Linked DNA regions of Homo sapiens: region 1 is linked to region 2. The links are contacts of gene promoters, found by promoter capture Hi-C in blood cells and fetal thymus (Javierre and others, 2016). All regions are on one chromosome and are shown on one strand. The core of a region is centred on a gene start or on the middle of the fragment in contact, and the rest is flanking DNA. Distances in the headings are between cores, read along the strand shown. Region 1 overlaps LOC105372710 (a long non-coding RNA gene). Region 2 holds the start of MIR1-1HG (MIR1-1 host gene).

Evidence for each region. Contacts are between HindIII fragments. The CHiCAGO score rates a contact against its expected background, and 5 or more counts as called.
Region 1: a fragment that was not itself captured here is called in contact with the fragment with the promoter of MIR1-1HG in region 2 in 1 of 17 cell types (M1 macrophages); the score reaches 6.6 in M1 macrophages.

Annotation. Positions count from the first base shown.
Region 1 is chr20:62,430,892-62,438,274 of GRCh38, forward strand. LOC105372710 (a long non-coding RNA gene) reads left to right here. Exons shown (of 4, transcript NR_187662.1): 3 at 1-173; 4 at 369-618. Among named protein-coding and RNA genes, the nearest start is that of RBBP8NL, 7.0 kb to the left of the region's middle. RefSeq lists an enhancer at 6,769-7,269. The HindIII fragment of the contact is 3,953 bases long and covers 1-3,471 here.
Region 2 is chr20:62,546,542-62,553,967 of GRCh38, forward strand. It overlaps MIR1-1HG (MIR1-1 host gene), which reads left to right and starts at 3,912. Exons shown (of 4, transcript NR_171007.1): 1 at 3,912-4,497; 2 at 6,924-7,124. CRMA (cardiomyocyte maturation associated lncRNA) reads right to left here and starts at 5,020. Exons shown (of 7, transcript NR_033263.1): 1 at 4,885-5,020; 2 at 1,771-1,920; 3 at 1,286-1,459; 4 at 1,007-1,161; 5 at 1-317. RefSeq lists an enhancer at 3,999-4,874. The HindIII fragment of the contact is 7,236 bases long and covers 2,391-7,426 here.

The DNA.
Region 1 (7,383 bases), core at 245-2,744, 120 kb before region 2:
GCATTGAGACGTTGTACTGTGTGAAGTCAGGGCCTTCTGTGCATCGGTCGAGGGTGCAATGCACACGGCACCCCCGAGCAGCCACCCATCCTCCCTTCCCTCCACCCTGCGAGGCCCCGTTGTCCGTCTGTCCACACTCTGCTCCATGAGCACACGTGACTTAGCTTCGCCTTGTGAGTGAGAACCTGCAGTATTTGTCTTTCTGTCCGAGTTGTTTCACTTAAGATAACGTAGGCACCCTCTTTTAAAAATTACTTTTTGCTAATACAAGAACTGCAAGGATGCCCCCTGCCCCCTCCTGCGAAGCACTAAACATGACAAATAAGACCAAAGTCTCCTTTTATTGTCGCGTCTCATCCCCTCCCCAGGTGAGCCGCTGCTTGGGGTGAGCATGCTTCCTGCTGGATGCTTCTCTATGTAAGCACCTGCCTGAGTGTCAGCCCTCTTAAGGTGAACCGCTCCGTGTCATTCGTACATTCACAAGTTTGTGCCGCCATCATCGTGATCGGATTCCAAAACATTTTCATCACCTCCAAGAAAGCCTTGTACCTGGCAGCAGTCACTGTCTCTATGGATTTGCTTATTCTGGACATTTCATAAAAATAGAATCAAACAGCATTTGGCTCTTCGTGTCTGGCCTGTTTCTCTGAGCACGATATTTCGAAGATTCAGCTGGGTCTCGCTCCTGTTCCTGGCTGAAGCTGAATAATATTCCAGTGCACGGCTGGACCACAGTCATCAACTGACGGACACTTGGTGGTCTCACATTTCCACTGGTGTGAATAGTCCTGCTGTGAACATGCGTGTGCGAGATTTTGGTTGAACACTTGTCCTCAGTCCTCTTGGGTGTGTATCTAGGAGTGCAATTGATGGGGCTTATGGTAACCCTAAGTTTAACTTTCGTTTACTTTTTTGAGACAGAGTTTCGCTCTTGTTGCCCAGGCTGGAGTGCAGTGGCACGATCTCGGCTTACTGCAACCTCTGCCTCCAGGATTCAAGTGATTCTCCTGTCTCAGCCTCCGGAGTAGCTAAGACTATAGGCATGCGCTACCACGCCCAGCTAATTTTTGTATTTTTAGTAGAGACGGCGTTTCACCATATTAGTCAGGCTGGTCTTGAACTCCTGACCTCAGGTAATCTACCTGCCTTGGCCTCCTAAAGTGTTGGGATTACAGGTGTGAGCCACCGCGCCCAGCCACTGTAGTATTTTTAAGAAGTCTAAATTAATGGGAAAAATTCACAATGAACCAAATAACCAAGTTTTATATAAAGACAGGATTAGGGTGAGGCAGGCGAGTCCCTTACTCTTGGGGCTGTGAGAGTGTGGGGTGGAATCGGCTCCAGGGTCCCAAGGTGTGGCCGGAGAATGGGCCTGGTAGGGAGACCTGGGCATGGTGCCCGTCTCCGGCCTCTGTCCTGTAAGGGTTTGCCTATGCCTCCGCCTCATCAGATTGCTCTAAAGATAGGACACAGCAGCACACGGGGCCCAGGCTGGGGTGAGTGGACCCCTCCCTGAGACCTTCATCTGCCACCGAGGTGAGGACAGCCATCAGCCTCCTCAGAGCCTTAGGGTCTGATCCCTCCTGGACCGGCCCACAGATCCCCAACGGACTGGAGTCCCCTGTGGCTGCTCCCCTCCCTCTCCCAGCCAGCTCTTGGGCATCCAAGCACCCCTCTGCAGGGAAGCCCTCCATGACTGTAGGTAGGTCAGGCCTTTTCCCAACAGGCCTGTAAGATGCAAGTCTTGGGTAGAAACTGTGTATTGGCTCAGGGGTCTTCAGGGTGCTACCTTCTTGAGACAGGAAGTGTTTGCCCGTTCATTGCTGTCTTGGCCCCTGGCATATGGTGGTACTTCATAAACATTTCTTCCTTTCTTTTTCTCTGAGGCAGGGTCTTGCTCTGTTGCTCAGGCTGAAGTGCAGTGGTAAGACCATAGCTTGCTGCAGCCTTGAACCCCTGGGCTCAAGTTATCTTCCTACCTCAGCCTCCTGAGTAGCTGGGACCATAGGTACACGCCACCATGCTTGGCTAAATTTTTAAAAATGTTTTGTAGAGATGGGGGTCTCTCTTTTCTGCCCAAGCTGATTTTGAACTCCTGGGCTCAAGCGATCCTCCCGCCTCGGCCTCCCAAAGTGCTGGGATTACAGGTGTGAGCCACCGTGCCTGGCCCTGGTGGGTTGTGTCTTACCCAGAAAACTCAAGTGCTAAGAGGCAAAGCCTAAAGGTTCCTCTGGGCTGAGACGGGATGGGCCCTGCTTGGTGAGAACTGGGGAGTGGTTTAGGGGAGGGCTGTGTTTCCTAAAGAGCCGACAGAAGCCTTTTACTCTGGCTAAACTATTTGTTCCTATACCTTTGTTAAATATTATGAAAATGAGGGTACCTGTGGAATGGGGACCCTGTGTGTGGAACTGGGGGGATGGCTGGGAGGGGTCTTCCCAGGCCAAGTCCTGGTTGGGCTCTTGCCTGGGATGTGTGGGGTGGAGGCTCCGGGGAGGGGGCAGAGGTGCCTGGGGGTGAACCAGCGGGTACCCCGGGCCATTTTGACCTCTGACCTCAGCTTCCTTTTTGAGACAGTGGGGCTGCCTTGGTGCCTCTCTCCTGGAGGGTGTGGGTTAAATGAGAGGGGTTCTGTGCCAGGGCCCAGGGCTGTGCCACTCACTGAGGGTCCTAGCGACACTCCTGAGATGGTTCTTATTTTGTCACCATTTTCCAGGGCAGTGCCAGCCTTGGCAGACGGGCCGGACAGAGGAGGGATGATGGCTCAGGCTGGCAGGGGCTGCCACGGGGCAGCGATGGCCACCTCGAGCCTGGCCAGTGCTTCTGGACTTCCTCTCTGCTGACTTTGTTCCCTGGCTAGAAACAGTTGTGGCAGCGCTCCCAGACCGGGCGTCTGCACGGAGTGGCCTCAGCTTCCTTGAGCTGTGGGAATTTAACGAGAGTAAAATGGGACCATAAATCTCTGTCGGTCGGGATAACTTGATCCGTGATTTTGGAGGGCAGGCCGGAGCAGGGACAAGGAGGTGTCTGTGATGGGAGCGATCCCCGGACTGAGCTGGGCTGTCTGCTGGCACGTCACAGATAATAAAACCGCGTCGTCCTGCAGCACACGGAGACTGTGTCAGATCGAGATGTCATAACCTGTGCCTTGTGGCCAGGAGCCTGGTGTCGGGGAGGCACGGTCCATACATCACAGATCCCACGCACATCATAAAGATACATTAATGGTCTATGTGTCTTTAAAGAAATACTAATATTGTTGTTTTATGAGAAACTAGAGTTGAAAATATTAAAAGTCAGAATTTTATGGCCTAAAAGAAAGTTAAATGATGAGGATGTGGGAAGGGAGACTGAAGTATCCGTCACCGCCCGAGCCAGAGTCCTGGATGGGGACATGGCGGGGGAGGGGCCGCCTGGCTTTGATGAACTTGGCCAGCTCTGGCAGCCTCTGTGTGAACCTTCGGCTCAGTTAGAAGCTTCCTCCTTGGGAAGGGTTTGGAAAGCCGAGATAGAGGACGAGGGCATTGGGGTTGTCCAAACAGTTGCATGGCTCGGCAGTGGGACACATGGCAGGAACAGGGCCTCCAGGAAGCCCAGGCCCTCCTGTTTTGGGGCATGATCAGGGAGCGTGGATGGGGACACCCAGAGGACTCGGTCTCACCCAAGCCCTTTCCAGAAGGAAATCCTCCTGGCTTGCCACATGCTCCTTGTCGGATGACAATTTCCTCTGGTGCAGGTTTAAATTTTTATGTGACAGATCGGCTTGAATGACCCTTGGAAAAGGAGCAAGTGAAGGGGCAGTGGAAGGCACCGTGGATGGCACCGTGGATGGCACCATGGATGCCTGGGGTGTCAGGGGCGAGGTCCTGGCCTGAGCCATGCAACCACATGTGGGGCCGAGTCCCCCAGACCCAGGGACCAGCTCCTTCCACCCTGGAATCTGCGTGCAGCAGGCGCTGATGAGCGTCTGTGGACGAGGGATGGATTGACCTGGGTGAATGCGCCTGTGGGCGAGGGATGGACTGATCCCTTTTCTTCGCTGGCTGTGCCCCTTACCCACGGCTGTGCTCTGTGCTGGAGTCAGTGGGGAATTCGGGGCCTGAGGGCTCTTTGCAGCTCTCTCTTGCCCCATTGTGCCTGCGTGAGGACCCCTGGGACACGGGCACACCCAGGGTGAGGATCTGCCAAGGCTTTGCTCAGGGTTTAAGATGCTTATTACTAAGGTGAGATTTCCATGAAATAAAATCACTCATTTTAAGGGAGTCAGTTCAGGGGTGTTTAGCGCATTCACTCTGTCATGAGCCAGCACCTTGACCTAGTTCCAAAACATTTTCCTGCCCCCAAAAGGAGACCCTGTGCCCATTAGCAGGTCCTCCCCATCCCTCCCTCAGCCCTGGCGACACTGCCCTGCTTCTGTCCCCGGATTTGCCAGCTGGGTGTTTCGTGTCACCGTATCCACGCCACGTGCAGTCTCTTGTGCGTGGCTTCTTTTCCTGAGCACTGTGCTTTTGAGATTCACCTCCATGGTAGCTTGCACCTGTGCTTCGCTCCTGTTAAGTTCTGGGCTGCATGGACGGACTGCAGTGATCTGCTCATCCGCTGATGGGCATCTGGGTGGCCTCCACTTTTGGCTGGGAAGAGGCTGCTGTGGGTGTCCAGGCACACTCCTGCCTTCGGCTCTTTTAGGTGTTTTGCTCAGGATTTGAGACACGTTTTCTCTCCCTCAGAGGAGCACCTGTTGAAGAATCATGACCTCTATCGAGCATTTACCTGGTCACGGACATTTTGCTGAAGAATTCACAAGTTCATATAAGGACACGCTTCATCTCAAGTGTCCAGTTCAATGAGTTCTGACAGATACGGACAGTCGTGTGACTCCAGATCACAATGTAGGACGTTCTGGTCACCACGGGCTCCTGGATGCCTCTTCCTAGTGAGTTTCACCCCATGCCCTGCTTTCTATTGCAGGAGATTAATTCTCTTATAGGATTTTGTATAAATGGAACCACACTGAGGCGGGAGGTGGGACTTGACCCTAGAGACAGGGCTGAAACTCTGGACCAGATTGAAGACTGGCTGAGACAGGGAAGAGGCATCTCTCCATAAGATACCCACCAGTGCCAGGCCAGTTTACCATTGCCACGGCGACACTTGGGAGTTACTCCCCCTTTCCATGGTGATGACTTGGAAGTACCACTCTTTTTCTAAAAATTCAGAATGCAGGTATGAATATGAGTGCAGCACTGCCTCTGAGCAGCTGCTCTGGGCTCGCTGCCTGTGGGGGAGTCCTACCTCACAAGGAGGGGTCCCTCTGCTGCTGCTGTGCACGGCCGCTTCAATCAAAGCTGCTAACGCCACCGGCTCACCCTTAAATTCTTTCCTGGGCGAAGCCAAGAACCCCTGTGGGCTAAGCCCCAATTCTGGGGCTCACCTGCCCTGCAGTGGTGCTCTGTGTGGCTCTGATGTCTGCCAGAACAATGGACTGGAGGCCTGTGTGTGTGGCACATGTGCCTTGTGTGGGTGGCACTCTGCTCACCCATTCACCTGCAATGGCCGTCTGGGTCATTTGCACTTTTTGGTGATTGTGAACGGAGCTGCGATAAACATCCGTGTGCCGGTTTTCCAGGAACCCAGGCGCGGATGGCCAGGCCCTGTGATAAGCATCTGTGTAACTTTACAGGAAACTGCCCATCTGCTACCCACGGTGGCCATGCCCTTTCATTCCTGCCAGGGCACAGGAGCGTTCCAGTTCCTCCACGTCTTTTCCAACACTTGGTATTTTCTGCCTTTTAAATTTTAGTATTTCTTGTTGGTATTTGTCGCAATTTAAAGATCAGAAAATGGAGGCTCAGAGAGGTGAAGTGAACTGTCCAGGCTGCACAGTGGGGAGGGCAGGGTCAGAACCTGCCCATGACCTTTGGACTGTGACCCCACCTCTCAGACAGAGCTGGTCTGTGCTGGCCCCTGAGGCCCCAGACTGACCGCAAAGGCCTTCACTTCACACCACAGCCCCATGCCCCAGTGCCCCCTAAAGCCCTCAGTGGCCCCCCTGCCTCCAGCCCATTCCTGCCCTTCTCCTCCCTGCTCCAGCCATGCTGGTGCCTTCCTCTCCCCAGGGCCTTTGCACAGCTGCTCCTGCTGCCCCTCTCCCCTGGTTTTATCCTTCCCATGAGCCGGGAACAGCTCCCCTTGGCCAGCATGTGCCCTCAGCATTCATGCAGAGTGATGCATTTGAAATGACAGCAAGTGGCAGTTGATACCTTTCTGTCCTGAAAAGCGAGACCCAGGAGGGCAGAGACCAGGCCTGTCCTGTTGGCCCTGGGGGCTGTGCCTGGCAGCTGGTTGTTGATTTGGGCAGCACGAGTGTGGCCGTGAACACCCTGCTGAGCCTCACCCCGTCTAGAGATGGGAGGAAGCCAGGGGTCCACCTCCAGAAAAAGGCGCTGGAGGAATTATTAGTGGACACTTCAGCCTTGAGGAGAAGCAAGATAACCAGGACAGCATTTCCACCCCAAGACTGGGGCTTCGGGGGGACATCCTGGGAGAGACCCCTCTGAAACTTCAATAGTGCCCCCGCAGGGTAGACAGGGACCCCACCTCAACTATGGGCACTGGGGGTCTTGAGGTAGCCTGGATGGTTCCCTGGCCTCCCCAAGGCCGTGGGAGGAAGGCCCTGGAGCAGGGGTCGGCCGTCTGCTACTGGGGACCAGGCAGGTCACTGCGCTCTGGGCGACACTGCCTGGGCTGACGCTGAGGTCTGTGTGGTCCGTTACAGTCCACGTTGCTTTCCTCAACACGCACAGTTACATAAACGATGATAACACTTCATAAACATTTTTCTAACATGCGGAATGTTTGACATGAATTTCAGCTATTTTAAAATGAATAAACAATTGTCAATGTCCTGGCCGACAGGGAGCAGAAGCCACAGTGCTTTATGGAAGATGAAAGGCAGGAGAAAGGTCTCTTCTTTAGAGAAGAGGAAGGGAAAGAGACCCATCCTGTCCCTCTGACGGCAGGGCCTTCGGAGAGCAGCCCTGGGCTCGGGCTGTGGGCGGAAGGGCCAGTGGAGTCCAGAGGCGAGCGCCCCTTCCCATAGCCACCGACTGCCCGGGGCTCAGCGGGCAGGCAGGGAGATGCCTCAGGACTCACGGGTGAGGGGTGTTGGGCGGGGGCCATATGGGCTTGTGAGCATTGCTAGCTGCCGGGCCCTGGCCAGCTGCCCGCCTCAGAGCTACAGCTGGCGCCGGGGAGCTGGCAGCTGAGTGCCATCCTTCCAAAGACGTGGTGCTCCAGGGCGCATGGCCCGTGACCACCACCGGGGTGTGGAGACACCTGAATGGAGTCCTCACTGCCGGCCCGGCCTGCGCTGCCTGCTCTCGGCCT
Region 2 (7,426 bases), core at 2,662-5,161:
GGCTTCCGAGAAACCGCTGCTCTCCTGCGTCCGCCCTCCGCTCAGCTTGTGTGGTGAACTCCCCTCGTGCGCGAGGTGCCCTGTGGCCAGAGTCTGCATGTGCCTCTACTTACCCAAATCCCAGGGGCCTCTCGCTGGGAGCTGCCCCCACCCAGTCAGCCCCGGGACCCTCTGGTCTGTGCTGCAGCCTCTGCGTTGGGCAGCCTCTCTCCTGTTTGCTCTGGCACCATCCAGGCCACAGTCTCCGTGCTCCCCACTCTCCAGCCCGGCTCCCCTCTTGCTGCACTCAGAGTCCTGGGGCTGGGGCAGGTTCAGATCTGGGGACAGACAAGGATGTAGGGGCAGGAAGATAGGCTCTGGGTCTTCGCGTGCTGGGCAACTGGCTTTTCCTCCTGAGCCTCAGTTTCCCCACCTACAAAATGGTCTCAGAAGGCTCCCTGGTGACGGGCCGTCCCCCTCCTAGGGATGCACTCTGTTCCTCAGGGCCCAGGCCATCTGACATCCCCCCTTGCTCTTGTGACCACATCTGCTCCAACAGTGAATCTTTCGGGCAAACTTTCAAGGCACAGCCAGAGCTGGGCAGCCCTCCCCAGGGCACCGCAGCTGGGCAGGGCCCCTGATGCTCCAGCCTCTGCCCTCCACCCTCACCCTCAGCAGATAAGCCATAAGGACCCTGCTATAGCCGTGCCAGCCTGCCCAGGCCTGTGCCCCTCAGCAGGACACCTGCAGCCCTGGCACTGGCCTACAAGGCCTGACGTGGTCTGACCCTGCCCGAAGCCCAGCCCCAGGCCACCCATCCACTGCCACTGCCCCAGTGGCAGCCATGCTGGCCTCCTGCTGCCCGCTGGACACACCAGGCCCCCCTTCCCGCCTCCGGGCTCCTGCCTTCCTGTACACACTCCCCGGGGTGCTCTTCCGGGACCCTTCCCCGCCTGCCCCTCTGACATCACTGGGGGGCCTGTTCATTCACCCCCACCCAGGCCTTCCCTGACCTCTGACCTCTGACCTGCAAGGCGGGACTCCAGGCCCTGCCCCCTGCTCCCCGGCTGCTCCTTCCGGCCCCCATGCCTGGCGCTGGGCCTGTCTCCACATTCCCTGGGCTGTGCATTTTCTCTCTCCCCCGCTGTCCCATACGGCGCCAGCTACATGAGCCTCCTGAAGCTGAAACAAATCAAAGCTGCACTGACTAAAAAATCCAGGTCTGCAGGGGCACCAGCCCCGTTTCTGAGAGCTTGGCAGCCACCGTGGCCAGTGGGAGCCGTGTGAGACAGGGCAGAGCACTCACCGTCATGGCGTGTTCCACCGGACGGGGCCTCGTGGTCAGCCCCGCAAGGGCGGGGTGAGCCTGCTTGTCCCCTGCTTGGGTCCTTGCTCAGGCGTCCCTGTGGGGCGAGGGCTGTGGTGGCCTTGCTGTCGGGGCTTACTGCTTGCTCCTTCATTCATTCACGCCTTAAACCACCTGCAGACACCAAGGGGAAAGTCTCGGGGGCCTAGGCCCTTCTCCCCTCTCTTCCCCTTCTGCCCCCTCTACCCCGTCTCCCCCTTCTCTCCCCTCTCCCCTCCCTCCCGTCTCTCCTACCCACTGCGGTCTCCCTTTCAAATCATGGTGGAGTGGGCCACGGGCAGCACGGCCCTGGGCCGTCAGGGGCGAGGGCTATGGGCTCTGACTTTACTGCCCTGGCGAGGACAGCCGTGGACATGGTGGGGGCCAGAACACACCCAGCTCCGATCAGTGCTTGGTATGGGACCTTGGGAGAGTGAGGCACCCACCCTGAGCCCACGTTCCTTCTCCGTAAAGTGGGGACAGCAAAATGCTCTCCTCTTAGGGATGCCTTGAGTGCAGCATAGAGCCCCTGCAGAAGCTTCTGGAACACCAGGCAGCCTAAGTGCTGTGTGCCGGCTGTTACTGTGAGGCTGGTGCTATGGGTAAACGGGGGAACTGCTCTGTCTTCTGGCTCTGTCCTACGGCCTGGGGGCTGTCAGATCTGGCCACCCACACCAGCCCTTCTCCTGGAAGGAGATGGCCCTGTGCCCGTGCCCTGGTCCGTGGGTGTGGGGCTGCCGTGAGGAGGGTGATTTATGGCCACGTCTGCTGCATACCCTCTCTCTCACCACCACAAAGCACCCGCATCCTTTACAGAGCCGCCTGCCCAGGCCTGCAGACTGCTCCCCACCTCCCCCATTGTGGCTGTCTATGCCCCTGACCCCAGCTGCAGGCCTGGCCTGCCCCCCTCAACCCTGCCTGGAGACGGCAGGCAGGAGGAAGTGGGCTGCAGGGGAGGGGCCTTGCAGGGGGAGTTTGGACACCACACCTCACACCACGCTCTCCCGCTGCCAGTGGGAAGCCGAGTGGCTATTTAGTTTCCAGAAAAGTGCTCAGACCAGGTAGAAGCTTAAAACCTCCTGGCCTCCTTTATGGTGAGACATGGGGTCTTTAGCGGGGCGTACAGGGCTGGGAGAAGGGCCTGGCATCACTCAAGAAGCCTCTGCACTGGGCAGGTGCAGGGGGCGTCCCTCTGTCCCTCGCTGTCGCTGGCCGGAGGACACCAGAGTGGGTGTCGGCGTGTGTGGCGAGTGTGGCTGGGGCTCCGGCTTCTCCCCATGACTCTGCAGAGCCGGCCTTGGGATGTGGGGAAGGGGCCGTGAGCCCAGGAGGTGAACCTGGAGGAGAGCCCTGCCTCAGCTCCTGTGGGCCAGCCTGGGGGGTGTGCAGGCTCCTCAGGGGCTCCCCTGGGATTAGATGCAGCTGAGCCTGTTCTGAGCGGCATAGACTCCCCGGCCCTGTGTCCCTAACTGGCCAGAACCACAAGGGGATGCCTTCCTAAGTCCGGGAGGCACTGGGGACATTTATGAGGTGGCTTCTGAACAGGAGGACCTATGCTCTGGACAGGACTCACAAATACCAAAGCTCATTGTCCCCATCACACGGGCCTGTGCCTGCCACCAACGAGCGGGGTCCCCGGACCACTGTGGTCCACTGTCATTCCACGACCTGGTCCCCAGTCCTGTGGGGCCCCAGAGAGATGGGACGACCAGCCAGCGTCACACAGCCTGTGAGGACAGTCTGCCAGTTCAGGCCTCTGGTCTCTGCGTCCAGGCCCTGCAAGGACAGATCCCCGTCAGGCCCCGTCCCAGGCCCTCGTCTGTTACATAATTCGGGCGTGAAATCCCGGAAGGGGGAGCTCCTGAGCCCGTCCAGCACCCGGGATTGGGGTCTCCCCATCACACACCCTTGGTGGCAGGGCCTGGCTGGGGGCGGCAAGCAGGTTGACCTTGCCTCTGTCCAAGGCGACTGGCATTTGTCATGACTTGGGGTTGGCTTGAGAGTCTCCGGAAACCCAGGTGGCTCTGTCACCACCTGATCCTGGCCCCAATTCTAGGCAAAAGGGCAGAGCCGATGGGACTGTGGAGGGGGCCACCCACTCCTGGTGGCCTGGGTGGGCTCAGCCCACTGGAGGCTCAGAGCAGCGAAGGAGGCCGTACCATTCTGCCCGCCCCCCCCACCCCCGGCCCTGCAGCCTGGGAGATGCCCGGGTCTCCCCAGGGCACCCTAGGAGCCGGCTGGCATGGCATGGAGGCTGCTGCCCGGCTACTGAGGAGGCGCCTCTGTACTGGCTGGGCTAAAAATAGCGGGGGGATCTCGGGCAGGGACAGCCGGTGGGAGGCCTGTCAGGGAGGGGCCGGGAGGGGCAGGACAGCAGCCTGAGCCCGGGACCCGCCGTCAATGGCGTGGGTGCTCCCACCCTGTTCCCGGTGGCCGGGCCAGCCGCGGCCCAGCTGACAGGCTATTTTTTCCCCTGCTTGACTAAATATGGTCAGGGAGCGCAGCCCGAGGGGGCCACTTGGCCAGGGCCGCGTGTTTGGGATGCTTGGCCGGGTATATAAGAACTGCAAAGGTGAGGCCGGCTCCTGACCCGAGGGGGGCCCCCACGCCCGCTCTGGCCTCTCAGGTCAGGCCCTCCCCTCCCCTCCCCTCCCCTCCCCCGCCCCTGTGTCTCCGCGAGCCGGCTGTGTGCCTGCGAGAGCGTGCACACCCGCGGGACCTTCCCTTTTGTTCCACCCTGACCTCTACCTTCTCTACCTTGTGCTGACCCCGCTGGGGTGCAGGGGTTCCCTTCGGAGGAGGCCGGGGCTCAAGGTGTGCAGCTCGGCCGCCTCTCCCTAACTCTGCACCAGCGCCTTCTCTCTCTCTCTCTCTCTCTCTCTCTCTCTCTCTCTCTCTCAAGATCTCCCTCCTGCTAAGTCTGCGCTGCTGCAGGAGGGCTGGGGGAAGGGCAGGGGTGTGGAGAGGGGGTGCCTGGTGTCTTCTTTCTCTCTCTGCCCCCACCAAGTGCGGACGCATCGAGCTTCGGCCCCCACCCCTGCATTCGCGATTGGCTCCCGGAGGAGGTGGCTGGTGCTGCCGCCGCTGCAGCATCTCCTAGGGAGCCGCGACCCTGCGCCCGCCGCCGCTGCCGCTGTCACCAGCCCGGCCCCAGGGGTGCCCTGGGCTCCGCGGTGAGTCCTGCTCAGCCCATCACCACCGCTGGGCCGCCGGGACGGCCCCTGCAAACTTGCCGGGCACCGCGGTGGGGGGTGTGCCTGCCAGCGAGGTGGGTGCTGCGGGTGCCGGCGCCGTGCGGCTCCGGCGGGGGTGCCGTGGAGTTTTCTCTTGGCTCGCGGCATCATCCACATTTGGAAAACTGCAGAGCCAGCAGCCGGCAGGGCCTGGAGGGCGCGTCCAGCTGGGAGGCAGGAACTTTGACTTGCGGGCATTTTGCAAGAAAGCAGCGGCCCCCCACGCGGGCAGTGGATGGCATGGGGGCTTCGGGGCTGGGCTGGGGGCGCGATTCACCTGCCGCTCCGCAACAAAGCCCCGGCAGCCGGGCGTGGGGCTAAACTTACCTTGAACTTGCAGTATCCCCCACTGAGGTGCTGGTGGGGGGCAGGGATTCCCGAGCTGAGCGGCGGCGAGGCTGCCCCCGGCCGGGACTCGGCACTTCTGCAGCTCTCCCAGCCACGTCAGGGTCAGGAGGCGTTTACAGGGGCAGGGCGGCGAGGTGGGGGGCGGGGGGCACATGTGGGCGGAGACTAGGGGGGCTTCGGGGAGAGCAGCCCTGGTGGTCGGCGTCTGTGCAGGTCCCTGCTGGGGAGCTTGACTTCCCGCGTGGCCTCCCGCGGCGCTGATGCCGGGGGCCGGGCGGTATTCACCGCTGAAGAGCCCCGGAGGAGGCCCCGGGCACAGGAGCCAGCTCGGCTCACGGTGGGGTCTGCTTGGAGGCGGCTGGGTGCTCTTTTTCTATGCAGACGGGAAACTTTTTGAAAAGTGACTACAATTCATTTGTGAGTGGGCAGAAGTCCTGTGGACTCTGGCTGGGTCTGGGGTGACTCTCCTGCCCTTTGGGACTCCCAGCTTTCCCCTTGACCCCCAGACCCCGTCCAGATGAATGCCTCACAGGTCGTGGGGGCTTGAGCCAGGCTGCGGGAGTGTCCCAGGCTCTGAGAGCTCATGTGCCAGGGAGCTGGGGACGTTGAGGAGGCCTTTTCCCTGGACTCCGGGGACGGTTATTGCGGAGGTCTTGGGAGGGCACAGATGAGCGGCGGAACCCAGGTGCCCCCGAAGTTGAAGCTCAGGCTGCGGTGTCGGGTGCCCTTTTTGTATCCTTGGCTACGTGAAAATGATAAATCACAGCAGCTACGTGGAAATGGGACATCAGCTTCTGCTTCTGTCTGCCATTTGCTCCTTCCTTTGTAGAGGGGATGCCTCCAGAGCCTTAAGCACAACCCCCACCCCCCGCCCCCACCCACCCCCACGTGAAACTCCAACCCAGCCATGCCCAGCTGCAGACCCACTGCCACACAGCCACAGCATGCTCAGTGGCCTCTGCACACTGCAGGCTCTGCGGAGACATTGCCCTGCCCTGGGTGGTAAGAGAGAACCAACTCGCTCCGGGCTGTCCCCTCGCATGGACGGGCTGCCTGGAGGAGCAACAGAGTCATGTTGGACCTCTCTTCCTGATGAGGACAACGGGAGGTCCTTTCATGTCCCGGGGCTGCTGTCCCACCCCACGCCAGGGTCAGTGGCAGGACAGGGGCCAGGGCCCAGCTGGACCCCACCGCTTAGCAAGCCTCCTGTGTCTGTGCCCGGCCTGCACCCCCAACTGGCGCCTCCCTGGCCCCCGTCCCCCCCAGGCACCTGCAAAGCCTTCTTTCCACCTCTCACCACCGCACGTGCCAGGCTCGCCCTGGGCCACTGCGAGGCCTCGAAACCCTGCAGGCCTCCTCCTCCTCCTCCTCCTCCTCTCCCCGCTCCCAGCAGGTTCGGGGCGGCTTCCCTTCCTGCTGGTGAGGGCCTAACCTTGAGGTCCCATTGGTCTCCTTCTGGCTCTTTCTCCACATTTTTCAGAGTCTGGCTTCACGGCTGGTCATAGAAGTTGGCAGGGAAGGAGGCAGCCTCTGCTTCCCACTCAGAGACATTTTTAAACGCAATGAAAAACATATCGATACAATTAAGTATTCCAAAGTGCTTAGTTTGCCACTCGCTAAGTTTACTTAAACCCTCTTTAACAGGCTCATTAGGAGCTGGTGAGCACCGGGAAATTCATTAACAGGAAGGCGGCCCCCTGCATTTGACTGTAAATTGGTATTGATCAGGGGCTGGTGGAGGCTGGGCGGCTGGCCACAAAGAGCCAGGTGTGGGACCAGCCTCCCGGGGGTGCCACGGCAGTGGCGCTGGGCAGGTGACGGTGGCTGCTGACCCCCGGTGCCCATGTAAGCTGCTGGCTCTGCGCAGCTGCCGCTTCAGGTGGGCCGCACTGCGCGGCGGTTCAGGGTGGTGACGCTGCGAGGCGGGGACGGGGGAGAGGGTGAAGAAGAGCGAGAGAAGGAGGGAGAGAACCGGGGGAGCGACGCTCCCTCGCCCACTGGGTGTCTGCTGTGGCCAGGCTGAGGCACCTAGGGAGTTGCCCCCCTAGTGGACGGCCTCTCAGGAGATCCTGACCACCCTCTGGGAACCTGGACTCCTCCAAGCATCGTCTTTCTCGCCTGCATCTTCGGAGAGAGGTGCTGAGCCCTTCCTCATGGATACGGGGTCCCGGGAGGCAGCCTTCACCAGGGACCTGCCCAGGAAACCAGCAGATGCCCAGGTAAGCCCCCAGGACACCTCTCGGGTCTCTGGTCTGCAGTTCCTCGTCTGGCCTCAGGAGCAAGGAGTTGTCCAGCTCCCGGAGAAGGAGGAGGCTGGTCCTGCGAGTGGGGTGCTGGGCAGGGCGCCCCCCAAGGTTCCTCTCTCCACCCAGCCCTCTCTGGGCTTGGCTGGGATGAGGTGACCCAGGGGGACAGGAAAGTGTTGGCTTTGAAAGTTTGGGACATGGATGATGCCTCCCTGCTCTGGGGTGAGGGTGGAGGGGCAGCCTGTCTCTTCCATGGACGCAAAACCGAGCTACTG